Regions from separate parts of the Homo sapiens genome. Here regions 1, 2, 4, 5, 6 and 7 are each linked to region 3. The links are contacts of gene promoters, found by promoter capture Hi-C in blood cells and fetal thymus (Javierre and others, 2016). All regions are on one chromosome and are shown on one strand. The core of a region is centred on a gene start or on the middle of the fragment in contact, and the rest is flanking DNA. Distances in the headings are between cores, read along the strand shown. Region 1 has its middle 3.1 kb from the start of LINC00658. Region 2 has its middle 9.8 kb from the start of LINC01729. Region 3 holds the start of TRMT6 (tRNA methyltransferase 6 non-catalytic subunit). Region 4 overlaps LOC107985411 (a long non-coding RNA gene). Region 5 has its middle 29 kb from the start of LINC01729. Region 6 overlaps LINC00654 (long intergenic non-protein coding RNA 654). Region 7 overlaps GPCPD1 (glycerophosphocholine phosphodiesterase 1).

Region 1 (2,774 bases), core at 207-2,706, 500 kb before region 3:
CCGGGCCTGGGAAACCTAAAGATACTTTGTGAACGCATGTCTGTATCTACAGAAAGCTCTGCTAGTTAAAGAAACTACCCTAGACCAAGCTGCGCTCTAAGGGGCTGGTGAGCTCTGTTATTTTTAAAATTACTTTAAATATTTTTTCTTTTTAATTAAAATAATGAGTCAAACATAGGGAGGATTACAGAAAATAATTTGGAACCAATCAGATTTATCTGAGGTGACCTTTTGCCACAGATGCTTGAAGTCCATCCATCTCTCTTATGAAATGAAATGTTACAGAAACAGCTCATTCTCTCCCTCCTCACTACTCCTTGCCTCCCTCCCAAGGCTACTTCCATCCTGAGTAGTGCTTTCTTCAGTTGCATGTTGATCTACTGTTATATACAAGAATGAGTTACAAGTCATATGCCATCAGCTTTGCATTTTGCAAGAATTTTCACAAATATTATGCTATCGCATGTACAGACTTTAGGCTCACTGCTGAACAATGCCCTGGGCTTCTTTCATTTTTCTGCATGTCTCACTCCTCTGGCTATGCCTGTTTGGGCTGGGAGAGAATACAGGGAATGTCCAAGATATTAGCAGTTCCTATGGCAGCAAGTGCTGGTTTCTGTGACTGTGGTTCCCTAAGAGAGGCAGAAAAGCAAGGGGACTAAGCTTCCACTGTGCACTTAATCGCAGGGCCATAGCCCAAGTAGGTTGTAAAGGCCGATGACATCCCAAGACAGGCTGGAACTTGAACTGACATTTTACAGAGGAAAACCAGGCCCAGAAAAGAGAATGGTTGCTTTAATGTCACACTTCCAGAAATTGGTAAAGCAGGAACCATCTCAGAGCTTATGACACCTTTGTACTAAACACATTGCCTTTAGGCAGTCTTATTCTTCATCCAGTAAACAGCAGACCATGGATTTGATTGTTTTCTTTCTTTTCTTTTCTTTTCTTTTCTTTTCTTTTTTTTTTTTTTTTGAGACGGGAGTCTTGCTTTGTCGCCCAGGCTGGTGTGCAGTGGCGCAAACTTGGATTTGATTGTTTTCTTGCCTCTGCTCCCCTGAGGAAAATGCCAGCAAACTATAAAATTTCATTCCCTGAGATCCTGGCAAGCTACATTGGACTTAGGTGTCTGCTGTTTCTGGGAGGCAGCAAGGATCTGAGTTTGGGGGAAGATCAGGTCACCGGGCTGAAGAGTAGCCCGAAGATCTTTTTTACCTGGATCGCCCTCTGGTGGCAGATTCGATAACAACCGCTCTAATTCATCATCTGAAATGCAAAGTGGTTGCAGCTCAAGTTTTCCTTGCTCCTCTTGGGACTTGCTCGTTCCTCATTAAAGCATCCCTATGCCCACTCTATACAAGACACATTTACTTTGAGCTGCATCCCTGAGATAATCGACTCCAAGCCAATATTTCTGTGTGTCAGTCACAGTAACTGGAGCTGTGGCATGGAAAATAAGAAGAAAGCATTGTTCCTGACCCCAAGGAATTTAAGTTAACTGGGTGAGACAGGCATACAGGCAGCTGACCAGACTCGGAGTCAGTGTGACCGAGAATGGACAGGCTGGGGGAATGCAGAGGGAGGAGGCCTTGGTGGGGAAGCTAGTGTCTGAGTTCTCAAGGAGCAATGGGAATTCTGAAGTTGGAGAGGGGCAGGGACACTGGAGGAGGGGAGGACAGGGCATGGCCCCTTCCTCCCTCCCTGTTTCCCCTTCTCCTTGGGGCCTTGCTCTCTTTCTCTTCCTCTTTACTCACCCCAGTACCAATAGCCCTACAATTCATGACCACCCGAAGCGTCCATTTTCTGGGAGAAGATTGGGCTCCTTAGCCTCTTCCTACAGACCTTTCTCTCTGAGTCTTCCCATGGGTCCTTCTGACATCTGAATAGAATGACCAAGGCATAAATCTCAATCATCGAGGTTTATTAAGTCAGCTTGAGGGTGCTTCCGGGAAAAATACAAGCCACAGGTACATCTGTGGCTGTTTTTCTCAAGAGAGTTTCAGGGGATTTAGTATTTACACATTTCCTTAAATGGGGGAAAGGCTTTTAGGAAAAAGGGCAGACAGGTGGTAAGGCGAATGGCTACATTCCTGTGAGACTCTAGCTGCTGCCTGGTAAATCTACATTTTACATAAGACAAATTGGATGTTTGAAAATAAAAAGAGAGTAAAGGAAGAGTCAAGTATGCAGATGTCTCTGGGTAGGTATAGGAATGAGTCTTGTCTTTATTCTGCACCTGCACTTCTATCTAAGCTTGCGATCAACATTATCAGCATGGAATCAACTTTAATTTTAGGAGCTAGGCTGGGCACGGTGGCTCACGCCTGTAATCCCAGCACTTTGGGAGGCCAAGGCGGGCAGATCACTTGGGGTCAGGAACTCGAGACCAGCCTGGATGAAATGGTGAAACTCCATCTCTACTAAAAATACAAAAATTAAGGCCGGGTACAATGGCTCATGCCTGTAATCCCAGCACTTTGGGAGGTCAAGGCAAGTGGATCACCTAAGGTCAGGAGTTCGAGACCAGCCTGACCAACATGGTGAAACCCTATCTCTACTAAAAATACAACAATTAGCTGGGTGTGGTGGCGCATGCCTGTCCAAGCTACTCAGGAGGCTGAGACAGGATAATCGCTTGAACCCAGGAGGCGGAGGTTGCAGTGAGCTGAGATCACGCCATTGCACTCCAGCCCAGGCAATAAGAATGAAATTCCTTCTCAAAAAAAAAAAAAAAAAAAAAATTAGCCAGGCATGGTGGCATGCACCTGTAATCT
Region 2 (2,908 bases), core at 211-2,710, 430 kb before region 3:
AAACCACAATGAGATACCATCTCACACCAGTTAGAATGGCGATCATTAAAAAGTCAGGAAACAACAGGTGCTGGTGAGGATGTGGAGAAATAGGAATGCTTTTACACTGTTGGTGGGACTGTAAACTAGTTCAACCATTATGGAAGACAGTGTGGCGATTCCTCAAGGATCTAGAACTAGAAATACCATTTGACCCAGCCATCCCATTACTGGGCATATACCCAAAGGATTATAAATCATGCTGCCATAAAGACACATGCACATGTATGTTTATTGCAGCACTATTCACAATAGCAAAGACTTGGAACCAACCCAGATGTCCATCAATGATAGACTGGATTAAGAAAATGTGGCACATATACACCATGGAATACTATGCAGCCATAAAAAGGATGAGTTCATGGCCTTTTTAGGGACATGGATGAAGCAAGAAACCATCATTCTGAGCAAACTATCGCAAAGACAGAAAACCAAACGCTGCATGTTGTCACTCATAGGTGGGAATTGAACAATGAGAACACTTGGACACAGGGTGGGGAACATCACACACTGGGGCCTGTCGTGGGGTAGGGGGATGGGGGAGATAACATTAGGAGATATACCTAATGTAAATGATGAGTTAACGGGTACAGCACACCAACATGGCACATGTATACATTTGTAACAAACCTGCACATTGTGCACATGTACCCTAGAACTTAAAGTATAATAAAAAAATAAATAAAAAAGAAAACCTCTTATGTCTTAAAGTTATAAGACAGGATAGAATTGGATTGGTATACACTATACCACATAAGCATCTGAGACCTGGGCCAGGTTTCACTGAAGCTTTAGGGGAGCCTTTTATGGTAGCATTTTTAAATTTTGGCACATTCCATAAATAGAAAATACCAAGTAGCTCAAAAATGGGTTTAACAGGCAGGCACAGTGGCTCATGCCTGTAATCCCAGCACTTTGGGAGGCCAAGGCAAGAAGATCACCTGAGGTCAGGAGTTTAAGACCAGCCTTACCAACATGGAGAAACCACATCTCTACTAAAAATACAAAAATTAACCAGGCATGGTGCCACATGCCTATAATTCCAGCTACTTGGGAGGCTGAAGCAGGAGAATTGCTTGAACCCAGGAAGCAGAGGTTTCAGTGAGCCAAGATCACGCCATTGCACTCCAGACTGGGTAACAAGAGTGAAACTCCATCTCAAATACATAAGTAAATAAATAAATAAATAAAAGGTGATTTTACAATCAGCTATAGGACTCCAACACATGCTCTTAAATGCAGGTTTCCAATAACTTTGGAGATTGTGACATTAGAATAGAAGAAAAAAACTTTCAGGACTCTCATGGAGAGCTAAATGTTCATGAATATGAAGCAGAACAGGAGTTAACTACATGAACTGAACTAATGGAAGACTAAAATAATCCTTTTATGACTTTTTGCTTAAAGAATTACTAACCCTTTGTTTTGTTTTTTGAAGCCAAGACAACTTTTCTGAGCTATTTACAGCTTTTAAAAATTGAGTAAAGAATACTCCTGTAAACAAAATTTGGAGTATATTTCTCTCTACTGGATTTCTCCAAAATGTGGAAACTATTTGTATTCTTAATTTATAGCAATATAGTTATCTGCATAAGTGCAATGTGAATCTGTTTTCTTTTTTAACAGGACACAATTGGAGACACTGGTTATTTTACCAAGGCTTTGACTGGAATGGTTTTCTTTGAGATACAAACAGACTCCTTTAAGGAATCAAAGTTGACTTATAGAGCCAATAAAAACCCCTTGAGAAAACTGGCCTCATACCTAGTCTATACAGTTCCTGTACAGGGTTCCTAACCTGTGATAAGTAAAGAATATCAGTTCCTAGCAGGCCCGGAAGGCCCAAGTTATATTAGGACCTCAGGAGGAGAGAAATTTACTCAACTCATACAGGTATGTGATGGCAAAAAACCATGGCTGGGCTCAAGGCTTTAAAGTCTTATCTGAGGTTCCTCATGGAATAATGTTTCATCAAAGCCAATATAAAAAGGAGCCTATATGGCAAACAGTTATTCTTGCTGTGCTTTATGCAAATAATCAGTATAAAAAGACTAAAGCTTATTTTGCAAACAAATCAGTCCTATCGTGGTCTGTTTTTAATAAAAATGAGGACTGGAGAGAGGAAAATTATGTTTTAAGAACTATGGGGCCGGGTGCGGTGGCTCACGTCTGTTATCCTAGCACTTTGGGAGGCTGAGGCAGGCAGATAACCTGAGGTTGGGAGTTGGAGACCAGCCTGACCAACACGGAGAAACCCCATCTCTACTAAAAATGCAAAAAATTAGCCAGGCATGGTGGCACGTGCCTGTAATCCCGGCTACTTGGGAGGCTGAGACAGGAGAATCACTTGAACCTGGGGGAGCAGAGTTTGCAGTGAGCTGAGATCACGCCATTGCACTCCAGCCTGGGCAACAAGAGTGAAACTCCATCTCAAAACAAAACAAAACAAAAAACTATGACTATGGTACACCTGTTATTAGATTCTAGTCTCATCAATTGTTTTTGAGGGTTTTTTTCTGCAATTTAGACTGATCCTGCTTACTTCTGTGAACCAACCAGTGATCTCTGGCTACAGCTCAGATGAAATAAGAGGCATGGGTAATGTAAAAATCTGGATCAATATTCTAATTCCGGGCACATATTGGAATCAGCTAGCAACCCCAGGCACCCAAGTCTTACCAGGTATGACAATAGCCATGAGCTACCTGGGCATGTTGGCAGCCTCAGGATTTTTTGAAGCTGTCCTCACCGACTTATTTCATTTGGACATCTCTACTTGTCTTAAAACCCAAGGAGCCATCTATATTTGTGGCCAATCAGTTCACCAATGCCTCCCCACTAACTGGAATGAAACTTGTACCATAGGCTA
Region 3 (2,714 bases), core at 156-2,655:
GGATCACCTGAGGTCAGGAGTTCGAGATCAGCCTGGCCAACATGGTGAAACCCCGTCTCTACTAAAAATACAAAAAAAAAAAAAAAAGATTAGCCGAGTGTGATGGTGCCAGAGTCCCAGCCACTAGGGAGGCTGAGGCAGGAGAATCGCTTGAACCTCGGAGGCAGAGGCTGCAATGAGCCGAGATTGCACTACTGCCCTAAAGCCTGGGTGACAAAGCAAGACTCCGTCTCAAAAACAAAAACACTGTGGTTGTATTTCTCAGATAAATTAATCCAAATATCCCAATAAATTTTCACCATTAATAAGCTCTTAGGACTTAACAACCTCACCAGCCCTTCCAGAAAGTTATCAAAATCCCACTTCTTTACTTCTATAAAACAGAGCGATACTAGCCAGCAGGTGCACAAACCAAACCTAATTTGGAGTTCTGAGGCCTTGAGCAAATTGCTTTTTAGCAATTTTCCCAGCGTTGAATCCTTTGGTGAGTAAAACGAGGGAAACTCAAAGTGATTCCACACTCTGTGGTGAATTGTCTCCTTCATCTATTCTGTGTATCCTGCTTGGGTAGAGAAGAGGATAGAAAGCCAGACTAGGTAGGAGACGTTTCATTTTTTGTGGGATAGATCCTGACTGGGGGATTAGGGAAGAAGGAGGATCTATGGTGGAAAAAAAGGGGGAACCTGAAGGAGACTCTGGAGACAAGGATGAGATCCTAAAGTGAAGAAAGGAGGGGGTGTCTCTGGAAAGACAGTGAAGATCCCAAGGTCCTAGGGAAAGAACTTCAGGACAGGTGATTAGGGTGTGGAGAGGGAGGCATTGGCACCCTAGGGCCAAGAATGGAATTCTGGGGAAGGAACTCTGTGGAAAGACTGAAAAGGATGCTGAAGGTGGACGGCCAGATATGAAATCATGGAGGGGGCTCCGGGAAAAACAGGAGGGTTAAGGGAGATTATGAGGTTCGAAGACGGGATCCTGGTGGAAAAGCCTTCTGTGACAGAAAGACCCGAGGAGACAACGAGGGCGGGGAATGGGGACCGAGAGAGCCAAGAATGGCACCCTGGCGGAAGAATTCTGTGGAGAAACCTGGAGGGAGGGGGTATCTACAAGGTGGGGGCGGGAGACCCCTAAAATCAGCGATCTGACTTACTTTCTCCGCTGGACTTGTACTGCTTTAAACACATCTTCACGTTTCAGCACCACGAAGTCGCCGTCGCGGATGCGGTGGTCTCCGGGATGCTGTGGTTGTGGGCCCGGCTGCTCCCCTGAGCCCTCCATGACGCTCAGCCGGTCGCCGTGCTCCACGGCGTCCCGCCCCTCCTCCTCGGTTGTCGCCACCGCCAGCCTCACTTCCCACAACCTGGCGCACTAGGAGCCCTCCGACCGGCACCGCCCCCACGTGTTGCACGCCGCTTCCGCTTTCCGGCCCAGACCTCAAGACCGCTTCCGGAAGCCTCTCGGCTTCCGTCTGGCCAAACTCCTTGATTGGCTGCACTCCGCCCCGCCCCTCTCGTCTTGCCGCTTCTTTGAGCGGAAGTTGGATCACTGAAGCGCCAAAAAAGAATTTAGGGGAAGACCTGATTTTCGCTTGAGGCATTTTTGCGGCGCTGTGCGCTACAGACACCTTCTGGAAGCTGCGGTGGGGAAACTGAGTTTCCCGAGCCGTTGAGACAGATGGGGTTCAGCACCGCGCGGGGACGACAGGAAAGCTGCGGCTGAAGAGAACTGCGGACTTGGCAGGAGTCGCCTGAGGAGCTAAGATCCCGGAGACTCTTAGCCCCGTGGTGCTTCTCTACGGGAGGGAGGGAGGGAGAATCCGGCCGGACAGATCTGCGCGTATCCTGGAGCCGGCCCAGTTGTGAACTAGGAGAGCTTTGGGACCTCTGTCCCAAGCAAGTAAGAACTTTAGCCTTAGGAGATGTAAATAAAGTAGTATTTGAAGAAGCACAGGTACCCAACTGTTTCTTTTTACTCTTTCTCCAGTCCTACTTCTTAACGTTTTTTTGAATTTGTTACTGTTCTCAGCATATTGTCTCGTTTGAGAAGGGTATGGCACGCAGCGTTGTTGAAGGAGCGCCTCAGCTTGGGAGGCTGAAAGTTTTATCTCTGTACTGTCGACAAACAACTTTGATCTTGATCGGTTTGCTTAATTTCTTTGAGCATCAGTTTCATAATGTGTAATGCCTAATTATTGGAGCCCTGTCATGCCGTTAAATCGTGAACTTTCTAGTTACTATCTTGTTTTATTAACTAAACCCCTTTTAAGTAAGGATTTGGGTAGAGTATTTGATAATGAATTGCACTGCAGCGTACAGGTATATCTTTATTTACTTGTATACTTAGGATATGAATCATTTTTAAGTAGACGTGTATTTTATAAGAACAGTTTTGGATTTACAGAAAAACTGCACAAAAAATGGATGTGACACTGCAGGATTGACTGTATGTAAGAAGCTATGATGATGTATCCCTAGTGTCTCACAGGCCAGAATTATGTTCATCCTGTCCTGCCCTATAATAAGAAGTCTCAAATACTGCAAATAAGTTTTCATAGAGTTAATTACCTGTCCTATTTTCATTTCTGTAATGGGGACTTGTAAACAGGTACAGTACCTGTCCTTATTTTTAACCTGTGAGCGTCTAGTATACGTAAACCATATTTAATAGTTATTAAACTATTATGGTATACCTTAAAAAGCGATAGAGATTAGAAA
Region 4 (2,934 bases), core at 330-2,829, 480 kb before region 3:
CTCTTGGACTTTCAGGGACATTAATATCTAAAAGGTTAGTTTAAGGTCAAAAAGACTAAATTTAGAACTTGAAGCTTTGATTTTGAAAAGTTTGTCTAATATCAAAGGTTCAAAACACTTGATATCATAAAATAGGATGACAGATTACTGTAAACTAAGTCATTCACTTAGCCAAAGTGATAATTCACAAATTTACACTTCCCATTGCCCACCCCTCATGCCTTCCACCCTGAGATTTAACAATAGTGATGGTGGCAGGAGGCAGACAGGTACCTAGGTGGGAAGGGGTGGGTCCCTGGTGAGGCCCAACCTTCAAACCAGGGATGGCCTGAAGCCTGGAGGCCAAGCTGCCAGTTCCAGGTGGAGTCCCTGACTGGGAGTAAGAATTTCCTTGATGCCTTTCAGCCAGTTGATGGTGACTGGTTTTTTGGACCTACCCTTGAACCAATCAGCATGCACTTCCTCCCACTCATGGACCAATCAGCATGCACTTCCTCCATTCTGCACCTATAATAACCCCTAGACTCAGCAGGACTCAGACACACATTGGGATTACCTTCCTGCAGGTAGGAGCTACCCACTTTGGGTCTCCTCTCTGCTGAGAGCTGTTCTGTTGCTCAATAAAGCTCTTCTCCATCCTCACCCTCCAGTTGCCTGAGTAACCTCATTCTTCCTGGACTTGCGATAACAACTCAGGACCTGCGAACAGAGTGCACAAAAAGGGCTGTAACACTTTCCTGGCCAGCTCACTGAGCTGCAGGTCGTGATATGCTTCCCTGTTCACCAAACTGTGGGAGTGAAGAGTGGTGACCCTTCTGGGGACGCAGACCTCAGAATTCCCAAGCCAGAGCTGTAACACTATAGCCCTCCCGCCCTCCACCAGTGCTGGGCGGCTGCCAGATGTGACAGGAAGCAGTGGCGGGGCAGGCCAGCCCAGGAGCTGTGGGCTGGAGTTGGGGTGATGGGATTGAACAAGCCGTAACACAAATGGGCTGAAACACATTGCCTCCCACCGCTGTTTGCCATGCTGTCGCGCTGCGGGTGGTGGGAATGAGAGAGCTGTAACATGCACCCCCAACCCGTAGAGGATCTGCAGTTGCTGGCATCTCCAGGTTTTCAGGAGCCACCACATTCCCTTCATCCAGATGCTGGCAACTGCAGGAGAAGCCGCTTGTAGTATGCCTGCTCCAGCCGCAGCCTTGCATGGAGCCAGTGCCTATGCCGGTGCCTGGAGCCGTCCGCCCTGCTGCGGCAGTTGGCGTGCCTGGCTGTGTGCAGGGGCCACACTCCGCACTTGCTCACTCACACACCCTTCGCCTTTCTGCATCTGGCTTGCCCTCGGCAGGCATGGGATCTGGGCTGGTAGTGCAAGCTGGGCACAGCCTGCCAGGCTGAATGGGTGGAATGAACCCAGTGGGCGTGAGCAATATTCAAGTAGAGGCGCTGCCGGCCATGAGGTTTCTAGCTGGTGAAGCGACACCCAGAGGATCCTGTGACAATAGGATTTCTGAAATCTGCATTGGCTTGTGTACAATTTGGGCACTGTATGAGTCAATTGGGGGAAACAGTTTTTGAACAGGAGCTGCAGGGAATTAGAAAAATCTAAGGCAGACTGACAGAAAAGTCTTCAAAGGGAGACAAAAACAGGCTTTTCCTACTGATGAAATGGGACCTACTGTCGATGACTGCTACAGAGTTACTCTAGAAGAATTCAGAGGAAGATGTGAGGAGTTCACTCTGGAGCCACAGTGGCCGGTAGAGGCTGGAAAGAAGAGAGAAAGGAACTTACTGTCATTGCAATGACAATGACAATAAGATCTGAGCAAGAAGGACAGTAGGGAGAAGCTGGGAACAAAGACAGGAGGGCTTGGGATGTGCTTAAAGGAGAACACTTGGTTTATTTTCCCTGGGTTGGAGGGCTTAGGTATATTTTTGTCTTATAAGGTCCACAGTTAGATTTTCTTAAGGCACAGGGGAGCCATTGAGGGTTAGGGAGCTGGAGAGTGGTGTGATGAAAGGTATGTTTGCATAGCTTCTATAAGTAAATGTTTCTTTCCACTGGTTTCAGTGACAAGGCACCAGCTCTCCCGATACTGTGGTTCCCGCAGGAGTCCCCTATGCCTATGTAGGCACCACCCACTGTGACAGGAGATGCCCTTCCTGCCCACAGTGTCTGCCTGCATTTTGAGACTTTCTGCTTCCCCAGGGTGAGTGAGGAAGCTGGCAACAAGCCTCACTCAACGAGAGGAAACTTGAGGCCAGCTGGGCACTTGAGGGAAGGAGACCAGCAGTGGAACACAAGTCGGGGTCCCAGGATCCCTGGGCTTTACCTGACACTTCCACATTCCAACTGTGGGGTCCATAAGCAAGCCCTGCACCTTCTCAGTCTCAAGATCCACTGACAGCCATGCCATCCTCTCCCTGTCACCAAAGCAGTCTGGCCTTCCAGCTGGCCTCCAGATGCAAAGGCAGAGTCTGATGGAGACTTGGTGTCCTGAGAACTCCAGAATGGGCTGTCAGTGCTCTAATTTTTCAGGTATGTCTATTCCCATAATTTGAAAACAGTGATAACAATAATAATACCATCTATGGGGCACTTTCTACATGCAAGGCACTCCACTAAGCCCGTTAAGAATGCTATTTCAATCCTTATGATACACGTATGGTGTAGGAACCGTGATGCCACTTTTGTGGCTGAGGAAGCTGAGAGTAATAAAAGTTAATGGACTTGTCCAAAAGAATTCTTCTAACTCTAGAATTCAAACCCTCAATTCATGTGGCAGTAATTCTAAAGGGTCACCCATTGCATTTGCATGTCAGCCCCATCCTGTGAAAGTACAGATTCCCAAGGCTTCCCTGCAGACAGACTGAATTGGCCTGTCTCGGGCTGGGGCCTGAGAGAGCCTGCACTTTTAGCCACTGCACCACCACTTT
Region 5 (2,981 bases), core at 346-2,845, 410 kb before region 3:
GAAGGAAAAAAGGGAAGGAAGGGAGAGAGAGGGAGGAAAGAAGCAAGGGAGCTAATATAGAAAGGTAGGATAAATGCTTGATTCTGTCCCTTTATTTCTCAATTGTCAAAGAACTGACCTATTCCCTGGAAAATTCTAGTGGTGACAAATGCGGGGGGTCTTGCTGTTGCTTCATTTTGTAATTTTGTCATTATGATATGTTTCAGTCTATTGTAAACATCTGTTTTGGTGCTAAAACTTGTCCCATCATAGGTGAGTCGGTTCTGGGTTCCTTTGACTTCATCCTATTAGTGTTTGATACCTTCCTTGCTTTCGACATGATAAGCGGTCCAGTGCTCACCTCATTCATGCCCTGCCCTAGACCTGTGAAAATCTATTTTCCTGCTGGTCCAGAGTGACTCATGTGCCATTCCACAGCCTCCCTGTTCGTTGGACTTATTTGGGTCACCGTTGCTGGCAAAGAGCTGTGGTCATTAGAAGTTGGTTTTATTAGGCCGGGCACAGTGGCTCACACCTGTAATCCCAGCACTTTGGGAGGCTGAGGCAGGTGGATCACAAGGTCAGGAGTTCAAGATCAGCCTGGCCAACATGATGAAACCCTGTCTCTACCAAAAAATACAAAAATTAGCCGGGTGTGGTGGCATGCGTCTATGATCCCAGCTACTCGGGAGGCTGAGGCAGGAGAACTGCTTGAACCCCAGAGGTGGAGGTTGCAGTGAGCTGAGATCGCGCCATTGCACTCCAACCTGGGGAACAAGAGCAAGAGCAAGACTCCATTTGAAAAAAAAAAAAAACTTGGTTTTATTGGCCATGCATGGTGACTCACGCCTGTAATCCCAGCACTTTGGGAGGCTGAGGCAGGAGGATCGCTTGAGCCCAGGAGTTCCAGACCAGACTGGGTAATATGGCAAAACTCCATCGCTACAAAAATTTTTCTAAAATCAGCTGGGCATGGTGGCATGCACCTGCAGTTGCAGCTACTTAGGAGGCTGAGGCAGGAGGATGGCTTGAGCCCCCGGCACCAAGGCTGCAGTGAACCGTGATCATGCCACTGCAGTCCAGCCTGGGTGACTGAGTGAGATCCTGTCTGAGAGAGAGAGAGAGATTGAGAGACTGATGCTCAAACAGAGATTCACACAGGTGGAGGCAGGATTCCAATGCATTGCATGTTGCGGCTGTTGAGCTTCATGAGGGGGTAACCACGTGCTCACCACTGAGCCTCCAGTGCCTAGCCATGACTTGGTGAAATTCTGTCTAGTAGGTATCTCTGCGTTATGTAAAATCATGAGCAATTCCTGTACCCCAAATAGTGCCCCACAGGGAAACTGGGAACTAAACAATACAAGCTATAGCACTTCCCTGCCCATACTTGAGCTAGTCCAGTACAGGATTCACTGCCAGAGTCACAGCAAAGGAGTCATAGCGTCTGCATTTTTGCCATCAATAGTCATTGGCTTCCTTATTTCCTAATGTTTCCCAAACTTAAAAATGATTAGTTACAAGAGGTATAAACATTTTGGGGACTCCTCTTTGAGCCAAAGTCATCTCACTAAGACTCTACCAATGTGCTAGTGGAGTTGTTGGTCCAGACTCCACACACTTTGGTGACAACCATGAAATGCTTTCAGAGGGGAAGGTGGGTGGCACGCACCTGTAGTCCCAGCTAGGCATGGTGGCATGCGCCGTAGTCCCAGCTACTTGCGGGGCTGAGGTGGGAGGACTGTCCAACACATGGACATTGGGGAATCTTCCAAGACGCACCTACAAATTCCCAGAAGGGACCAGCTGGGAATTTATGTGCCATGTGCATCTCTGGGATATTTCCTAAAAGAAGAGAGGCTGAGGCATGGTGCACAAATTCTGTATCTCTGGCAGAGTCCTCCACATGAAACTGCCTTTGCAAAATTAGACAGAGAAATCTAACATAGCTGACTTCATCCTTCCTCTAACCTCCAAGCTGTTCTTGGTCATTTCTGGGCATAAGCCAGACTAACTTTGGGAGACATTTAGTTTATAGTTTAACCTTAGACTACCATAGCCCTTCCCAAAACTAAATCACCTTTGTAAAACTAATGAAAGGCCGCAAGGTTAGGAGAATGAGAAGGGCCCGAATTCTGCTAGGATGGAGGCGTAAAGGAAAAACAGCCATTGTTCCGGAGGTCACAAGATTTGCAACTTCCCCAATCTCTCTTGTAGATAACATCACTATTGTAGAACCTAAGATTGGTCTTTTGAGGTGTCTATTCAGACTTCTGCACTTCTGACAATTGGCTAACTCCACCCAGACTCATGACTCATGACTAAGCAGTCCTCTGGGACCCCCACTCAGAGGCAAACCATTTTCCATGCCCCTGTGATAGCATCCCCAACCAATTAGTAGCATTCCCTAGTCCCCTGCCCACCAAACTATACTTGAAAACCGCTAAACTCAAAGCCTTCACAGGGATCAGTTTGAGTAATAACTCCATCTCCTGTGTGGTGGTGGGTCTTGCATCAATTAAACTCTTCACTGTAATGCCATGGTCTCAGTGAATTGATTTTGTCTGTGCAATGGGGAGGACAAGCCCATCAGGCAATTACAGAAACATGCTGGGAGCCTAGGCACCTCTGCGTCTGCTATCCACATGGCCACTTCCTTCTAACACCAAGCCTGGGATATCTTCATCACACTCATTCCCCAAACCTTGGCCCTTTTCTCATGGAACAACCTTGCTGAAAGTCAGTGGAGACAGACTCTCACTACTATCTCAACTAGAGACACTAGTTGACACAAGAAACTGTGCTTCTAAAGATCACTTATAAAGTTGGTTTCTAGGAACTTGGAGACCATTTACCCATTGGGTATGTTTTTTTTTTTTTTTTTTTTTTTTTTCCTGAGATGGAGTCTCACTGTATTGCTCAGGCTGGAGTGCAGTGGCATGATCTTGGCTCACTACAACATCTGCCTCCCAGGTTCAAGAGGTTCTCCTGTCTCAGCTTCC
Region 6 (2,720 bases), core at 149-2,648, 450 kb before region 3:
CCTCATAAACAGGATCTCAAAGATTCTCCCCTCCTCATCCATCAGATGCCCCAGGCTGGAGGGTGGCCCCAGAAGAACACTTTCTAGCCCCTGCCTCCCTCCCCCCATCCACCCCCATCTATTCAGCATCCCTCAGAAAACATCCCAAGTTTGTAGCAGAAAACAGAAGTGTAAATCAGAAAAGGTAACATTCACACTTCACACCTTCATGTAGAAGCCCAGCAAGCTCTTGAACCCAGAGCCGGGATGCCTTCCAGAGCCGGCTGCTGCCAAGACCCTGACAGAAGGCAGTAGAGGGAGGGGGCCTGCTCAGAAGCTCAAGCATCTGATCCTCCATTACAAAACACCTGCTAGTGCTGCATAGCTGGGATTTCCATGACGACTGAAGACAAGACTGCCACCTTGTCTACTCCTGCCATGGCCACAGTGGTCTTCAATGTAATGTTGCCATCCAAGTGGTAGCCCAGATGTGCTGGATGTGACTAGCAGGAACGTGTGCAAAACATAGCCCTTAGCAGGGCCCAGCCTTACTAAGAGGTCATGTATGCTCTGGGCAAGGCCAGGCTGGCTCTATGGTCTGCAACTGTCAGCCTCACTACAGGGGCAGCAGGAACTGAGAGAAGAAGGGTTGAAGTCTCTGTTCCTCAGCTCCTCTGAGAAGCAGACGCCAAGAGCAGATTAAACTGCAAGGGTTTTAGGAAGGAACATAACATTGTGAAAATTATGAAGGACTGGGTGAGCCATCAGACCTTAAAGCAAGTATCAGCCCTAGTGGGAAACAGAGGGGAAGAGGATGGGCGGGACTGCACAGAACTGTATTCTAAGGAAAATCCATGGTGCCTTTAGGGAGTCTTTGAAACAGCCAGCAAATAAGTTCTGGGCGTGCCAGCAGCAAGTTGGCCTTAGCACCCCCACCACACTCGGTCATCAGAGGAGAGCTGCCACGGGATGCCCATACCAGGTGGACACCTGGAGGGAGCAGCCCCGCCTGGAGGAGGTCAGGCACACAGAGTCCTAGGCACTGAGGTTGGGCACCACGGATGGAAGTGCAGCTGAGAGAACCCTGAGGTTCCTGGGCTCCCTGGGGCCCAAGCCAGGACGAGCAGGTGAACACACACAGAAGGAACTAAAAGACCTCCTTGCTGGTGGGGTTGTCCTAGAAGGGGGCAGGCGGGTGGGACCCAGAACCTCCTGCAAGAAACCAGAATACCATCTGTGGGGCTCAGAGATTGGTTGGTTTTAAGAAAGAGGCTCCTTTCTACTTATTTTAAAAATCAAAATTATACATTCACAGGTAACAAATGGTCAAATAACACCTAAGAGGCTTTACTTCAGAAAACAGCAACTGTCCCCCTTCTTTGCCATTTGCTCTCTTTGATCTGAGTCACAAGGACCTTCTCCAGTGCTATCTCCCTCTCCCAGAGTGATGGCCACCCACTCTGTTACCTGAGCTTTGTATGATTGCTTCATTGGCAATTTTTTGCAACAATTTGGTAGTAATTTGACAGTTAACCTGTTCTTCCAGGTGTATGGCATCTCATAACAGAGTAAATTAGATTCTCATATGTTTCCAATTTTCTTAAGAATCAATATTCCTTATGTTAAAGCCCTGATAAAATACATGTTTGAGTTCCTTGGGAGTGTCCCTGCCACGGTGTTTGGGCCGTGATTCAAACAGAGAGATCCCACATTTATGCAGGGGTCTGCCCTGTTCTCACCTGAACTTCTAGCACCATTCTCTCCTCTGGCGACCCCTAGCTCTGCTTGATGGGGGCATATGAACATCAGGAGTCTCCAAATCATGCTTATATTCTTCGAACATAAACTTGGACCCAAATCCACCCCCATTCCCCTTGGCATTGCTGCCAAGCTCCCAACACTTGAAGGCCCTGAACTCCTTGCTGAACAGCCCTAGTCTGACTTCAATCCACTCTCCACTCCCAGAGTCTGGCCCCCTCCCCTCAGGCCTCAATTTTCTCCTGATTCTATTGATCACATCTGGACATTTGGCACAGAATAGGATGAGAGGGGACATGGCAGTAATGGGAGAGATGGCAGGTGAGGTTTCTTTACCATCACCATGGACGCCTCAGGCCATGTGCACTGGGTGGGGCTTTGGAGGTGAGGAGGTCAGAGAGTTCTTCTTAGGCCCTGGGTTCATCTCAGCTCACTGGAACCCTCAGACATTAGGAATCCCTGGGAGGTAGCGGTGTCATTGAGCCCCATTTCAAGGGCTTACCACACTCCCAGCTCTGTGTGATATTGACAAGTTCACCCTCTCTGAGCTCCAATTTTTGTTTTTACTCTTTAAAGTGTGGGACATCTCTTTATTCCCGAGTGAACAGCAGAAAATGAGATGGAGTGAGAGCCGAAAGAAGGCAAGGAATATTCCTGAGATTGTTCTCAAGGAGATGGGGATGTCCGTGGATGAATCACAAAGGGAGGAAATGGGTGCAAAGGTCTCACTGAGATCCAATGACAGCAGAAGCTGCCAGTCTAAGATCTGGACCAGATTTGAAGTTTTAGGGGAGCCTATATGACAGCATTTTGTTTCTACTGGCATAACTTCATACATGAACAATGTCATAGCACTCAAAAATGGGTTTAGGAGAGGCCTAAAAATATGCCACAAAATTCAAGAAGCTAAAATACTATCAGATTATTTTTTAAAGACACAATCAATCAGAAAACTTTAGAAAACGCCAGCATGCATCATCCAA
Region 7 (2,716 bases), core at 201-2,700, 390 kb before region 3:
GTCAATGCCTGGCTTCAAAGCTTCAAATAACAGGCTGCTTCTCTTGTTAGGGGCTAATACAACTGATGATGAGTTTAAGTTGAAGCCAATACTCATTTAACACTCTGGAAATTGTAGGGCCCTTCAGAATTACGCTAAATCTACTTTGTCTGTGCTCCAGAAATGCAACAAAGTCTGGATGACAACACATCTGTACACAGCATGGTTTACTGAATATTTTAAGCCCATAGTTGAGACGTACGGCTCAGGAAGAAAAAATATTACTGATCATTGACAATGCACCTGGTCACCCAAGAACTCTAACAGAGATTGCTGCTTTCATACCTGTTAACACAAAATCCATTCTGCAGCCCATGGATCAAGGAGTCACTTTGACTTTCAAGTCTTATTACCTTAGAAATACATTTCAAAGACTGTAGCTGCCACAGACAGTGATTCCTCTGAAGGATCTTGGCAAGGTAAACTGAAAACTTTTTATCATTCCAGATACCATTAAGAACATTTCTGATTCATGGGACAAGATCAAAATATCAACATTAACAGGCATTTGGAAGAAGCTGATATCAATCCTCATAGATGCCAGAGGGGTTCAAACCTTCAGTGGAAGAAGTCACTGCAGATGTGGTGGAAATAGAAAGAGACCTAGAAATAGAAGTGGAACCTAAAGATGTGACTGAATTGCTGCAATCTCATGATAAAACTTTAACAGACGAGGAGTTGCTTCTTATGGATGAGGAAAGAAAATGGTTTTTTGAGACAAATCCACCCAACAAAGATGCTCTGAACATTGTTTAAATGACAACAAGAGATTCAGAATATTACATAAACTTAGTGAATAAAGCAGCAGCAGGGTTTGAGAAGATGGACTCCAATTTAAAGATGTACTTACTACTGTGGGGCAGGGAGTGGTGGCCACCTGTAATCCCAGCACTTTGGGAGGTAAAGGCAGGCAGATCACCTGAGGTCAGCAATTCAAGAACAGCCTAGGCCAATATGGTGAAACCCTGTCTCTACCAAAAATACAAAAATTAGCTGGATGTGGTTGTGCATGCCTGCAGTCCCAGCTACTCGGGAGGCTGAGGCAGGAGAATCACTTGAACCTGGGAGGCGGAGGTTGCAGTGAGCCGAGATTGTGCCATTGCACTGCAGCCTGGGCGACAGAGCGAGACTCAATCTCAAAAAAATAATAATAAAATAAAAATAAAGATGTTTTGGCAGGGCGCGGTGGCTCACACCTGTAATCCCACAGCACTTTGGGAGGCCAAGGCGGGTGGATCACTTGGGGTCGGGAGTTCAAGAACCTGGCCAACATGGCAAAACCTCTTCTCTAGTAAAAATACAAAAATTAGCCAGGCATGGTGGCAGGCGTGCGCCTGTAATCCCAGCTACCCAGGAGGCAGAAGAATCGCTTGAACCCAGGAGATGGAGGTTGCAGTGAGCCAAGATCATGCCATTGCACTCCAGCCAGGGTATTAAGAGTGAGACTCTGTCTCAAAAAGCAAAAACAAATAAAAAAGATGTTTTACTGTGGGTGAAAAATGCTCTTAAACACCATCATGTGCAACAGAGAAATATTGTGTAAAAGGAAGAGTCCACGGGTACAGCAGACTTCATTTGTGTCTTATTTTAAGAAACTGCCACAGCCACCTCAACCTTCAGCAACCACCACCCTAATCAGTCAGCAGCCATCAACATCAAAGCAAGACCCTCCAGCAGCAAAATGATTATGATTTGCTGAAGGTAGATTGTTAGCATTTCCTAGTAATAACGTATTTTAAAATTAAGATATATACTGTGTTTTCTCAGACACAACGCTACTGTACACTTGGTAAACTACAATGTAGTATAAACATAACTTTTTTTTTAGACAGAGTCTCACTCTGTCACCCAGACTGGAGTGCAGTGGCGCGATCTCGGCTCACTGCAACCTCTGCCTCCTGGGTTCAAGTGATTCTCCTGCCTCAGCCCCGAGCAGCTAGGATTACAGGCATGTGCCACCACACCCGGCTAATTTTTGTATTTTTAGTAGAGACAGGGTTTCACCATGTTGGTCAGGCTGGTCTCAAACTCCTGATCTCATGATCTGCCCGCCTCAGCCTCCCAAGGTGCTGGGATTACAGGCGTGAGCCACTGCGCCCGGCCTAAACATAACATTTATATGCACTCGGAACCAAAAGATTTAGGACTTGCTTTGCTGTGGTGGTCTGGATCCCAGCCTTCACTATCGCTGAGGTACACCTGTATGAGCAAGTCTGCTAATCCCTCAGCAGAGTAAATGACATCCCTTCTAACCCCAAATATCTTTATACTAAAGAAACCTTTTTGACTCTCAGATTAGTGGCTGCCAAAGAAGCTGATGGAAAAAAAAATATTTGTTCAATAAATTATTTGACTCCCTACTGGATGCCCCACATTGTTCTAACCTCAATAGCAATGAACAAATCAGGCAAACAGCCTTGCCCTCCTCATGGAGCCTATATTCTCATTTGCATGTGTGCATTAGTGCCCAGGAGGATGGAGGAAAGGGGCTAGGGAGAAAAACAAGTAAAATGTAACACAGAATATGTGGTGTGTCAGATGATGATAAATGATATGGAGACAAGTCAGGGAGTGCACTGTGAATAGAAGTTGTTATTTGAAATCAGTTATTCAAGAAAGTCCTCACTGAGGTGACATTTAAATTGTTACGGAAGTCTTTCTCCAAAGAATGGGAAAC

What was found. The method cuts DNA at HindIII sites, captures the fragments that hold promoters and counts their contacts. A CHiCAGO score of 5 or more calls a contact.
Region 1: a contact is called between a fragment that was not itself captured here and the fragment with the promoter of TRMT6 in region 3, in 1 of 17 cell types (M0 macrophages). The highest score is 5.1, in M0 macrophages.
Region 2: a contact is called between a fragment that was not itself captured here and the fragment with the promoter of TRMT6 in region 3, in 16 of 17 cell types (M0 macrophages, endothelial precursors, M1 macrophages and 13 more). The highest score is 16.3, in M0 macrophages.
Region 4: a contact is called between a fragment that was not itself captured here and the fragment with the promoter of TRMT6 in region 3, in 1 of 17 cell types (M1 macrophages). The highest score is 5.2, in M1 macrophages.
Region 5: a fragment that was not itself captured here is called in contact with the fragment with the promoter of TRMT6 in region 3 in 17 of 17 cell types (naive CD4 T cells, fetal thymus, naive B cells and 14 more); the score reaches 35.2 in naive CD4 T cells.
Region 6: a contact is called between a fragment that was not itself captured here and the fragment with the promoter of TRMT6 in region 3, in 4 of 17 cell types (erythroblasts, fetal thymus, M0 macrophages and 1 more). The highest score is 7.9, in erythroblasts.
Region 7: a fragment that was not itself captured here is called in contact with the fragment with the promoter of TRMT6 in region 3 in 17 of 17 cell types (naive CD4 T cells, fetal thymus, naive B cells and 14 more); the score reaches 31.6 in naive CD4 T cells.

The regions. Positions count from the first base shown.
Region 1 is chr20:5,447,449-5,450,222 of GRCh38, forward strand. No RefSeq gene overlaps it. Among named protein-coding and RNA genes, the nearest start is that of LINC00658, 3.1 kb to the left of the region's middle. The HindIII fragment of the contact is 1,590 bases long and covers 662-2,251 here.
Region 2 is chr20:5,518,312-5,521,219 of GRCh38, forward strand. No RefSeq gene overlaps it. Among named protein-coding and RNA genes, the nearest start is that of LINC01729, 9.8 kb to the left of the region's middle. The HindIII fragment of the contact is 1,268 bases long and covers 827-2,094 here.
Region 3 is chr20:5,949,128-5,951,841 of GRCh38, forward strand. TRMT6 (tRNA methyltransferase 6 non-catalytic subunit) reads right to left here and starts at 1,406. Exons shown (of 11, transcript NM_015939.5): 1 at 1,151-1,406. The coding sequence starts at 1,278. It overlaps MCM8 (minichromosome maintenance 8 homologous recombination repair factor), which reads left to right and starts at 1,525. Exons shown (of 19, transcript NM_032485.6): 1 at 1,525-1,896. RefSeq lists an enhancer at 1,402-1,541. The HindIII fragment of the contact is 3,685 bases long and covers 1-2,714 here.
Region 4 is chr20:5,464,231-5,467,164 of GRCh38, forward strand. LOC107985411 (a long non-coding RNA gene) reads right to left here. Exons shown (of 3, transcript XR_001754485.1): 2 at 557-699. Among named protein-coding and RNA genes, the nearest start is that of LINC00658, 20 kb to the left of the region's middle. The HindIII fragment of the contact is 3,015 bases long and covers 73-2,934 here.
Region 5 is chr20:5,537,659-5,540,639 of GRCh38, forward strand. No RefSeq gene overlaps it. Among named protein-coding and RNA genes, the nearest start is that of LINC01729, 29 kb to the left of the region's middle. The HindIII fragment of the contact is 8,068 bases long and covers 1-2,981 here.
Region 6 is chr20:5,496,798-5,499,517 of GRCh38, forward strand. LINC00654 (long intergenic non-protein coding RNA 654) reads right to left here. Exons shown (of 2, transcript NR_015406.2): 2 at 1-2,720. The region is part of intron 2 of LOC124904863 (a long non-coding RNA gene); the gene reads left to right. Among named protein-coding and RNA genes, the nearest start is that of LINC00654, 6.4 kb to the right of the region's middle. The HindIII fragment of the contact is 3,038 bases long and covers 1-2,720 here.
Region 7 is chr20:5,554,362-5,557,077 of GRCh38, forward strand. All of the region lies in intron 19 of GPCPD1 (glycerophosphocholine phosphodiesterase 1), which reads right to left. Among named protein-coding and RNA genes, the nearest start is that of LINC01729, 46 kb to the left of the region's middle. The HindIII fragment of the contact is 2,865 bases long and covers 19-2,716 here.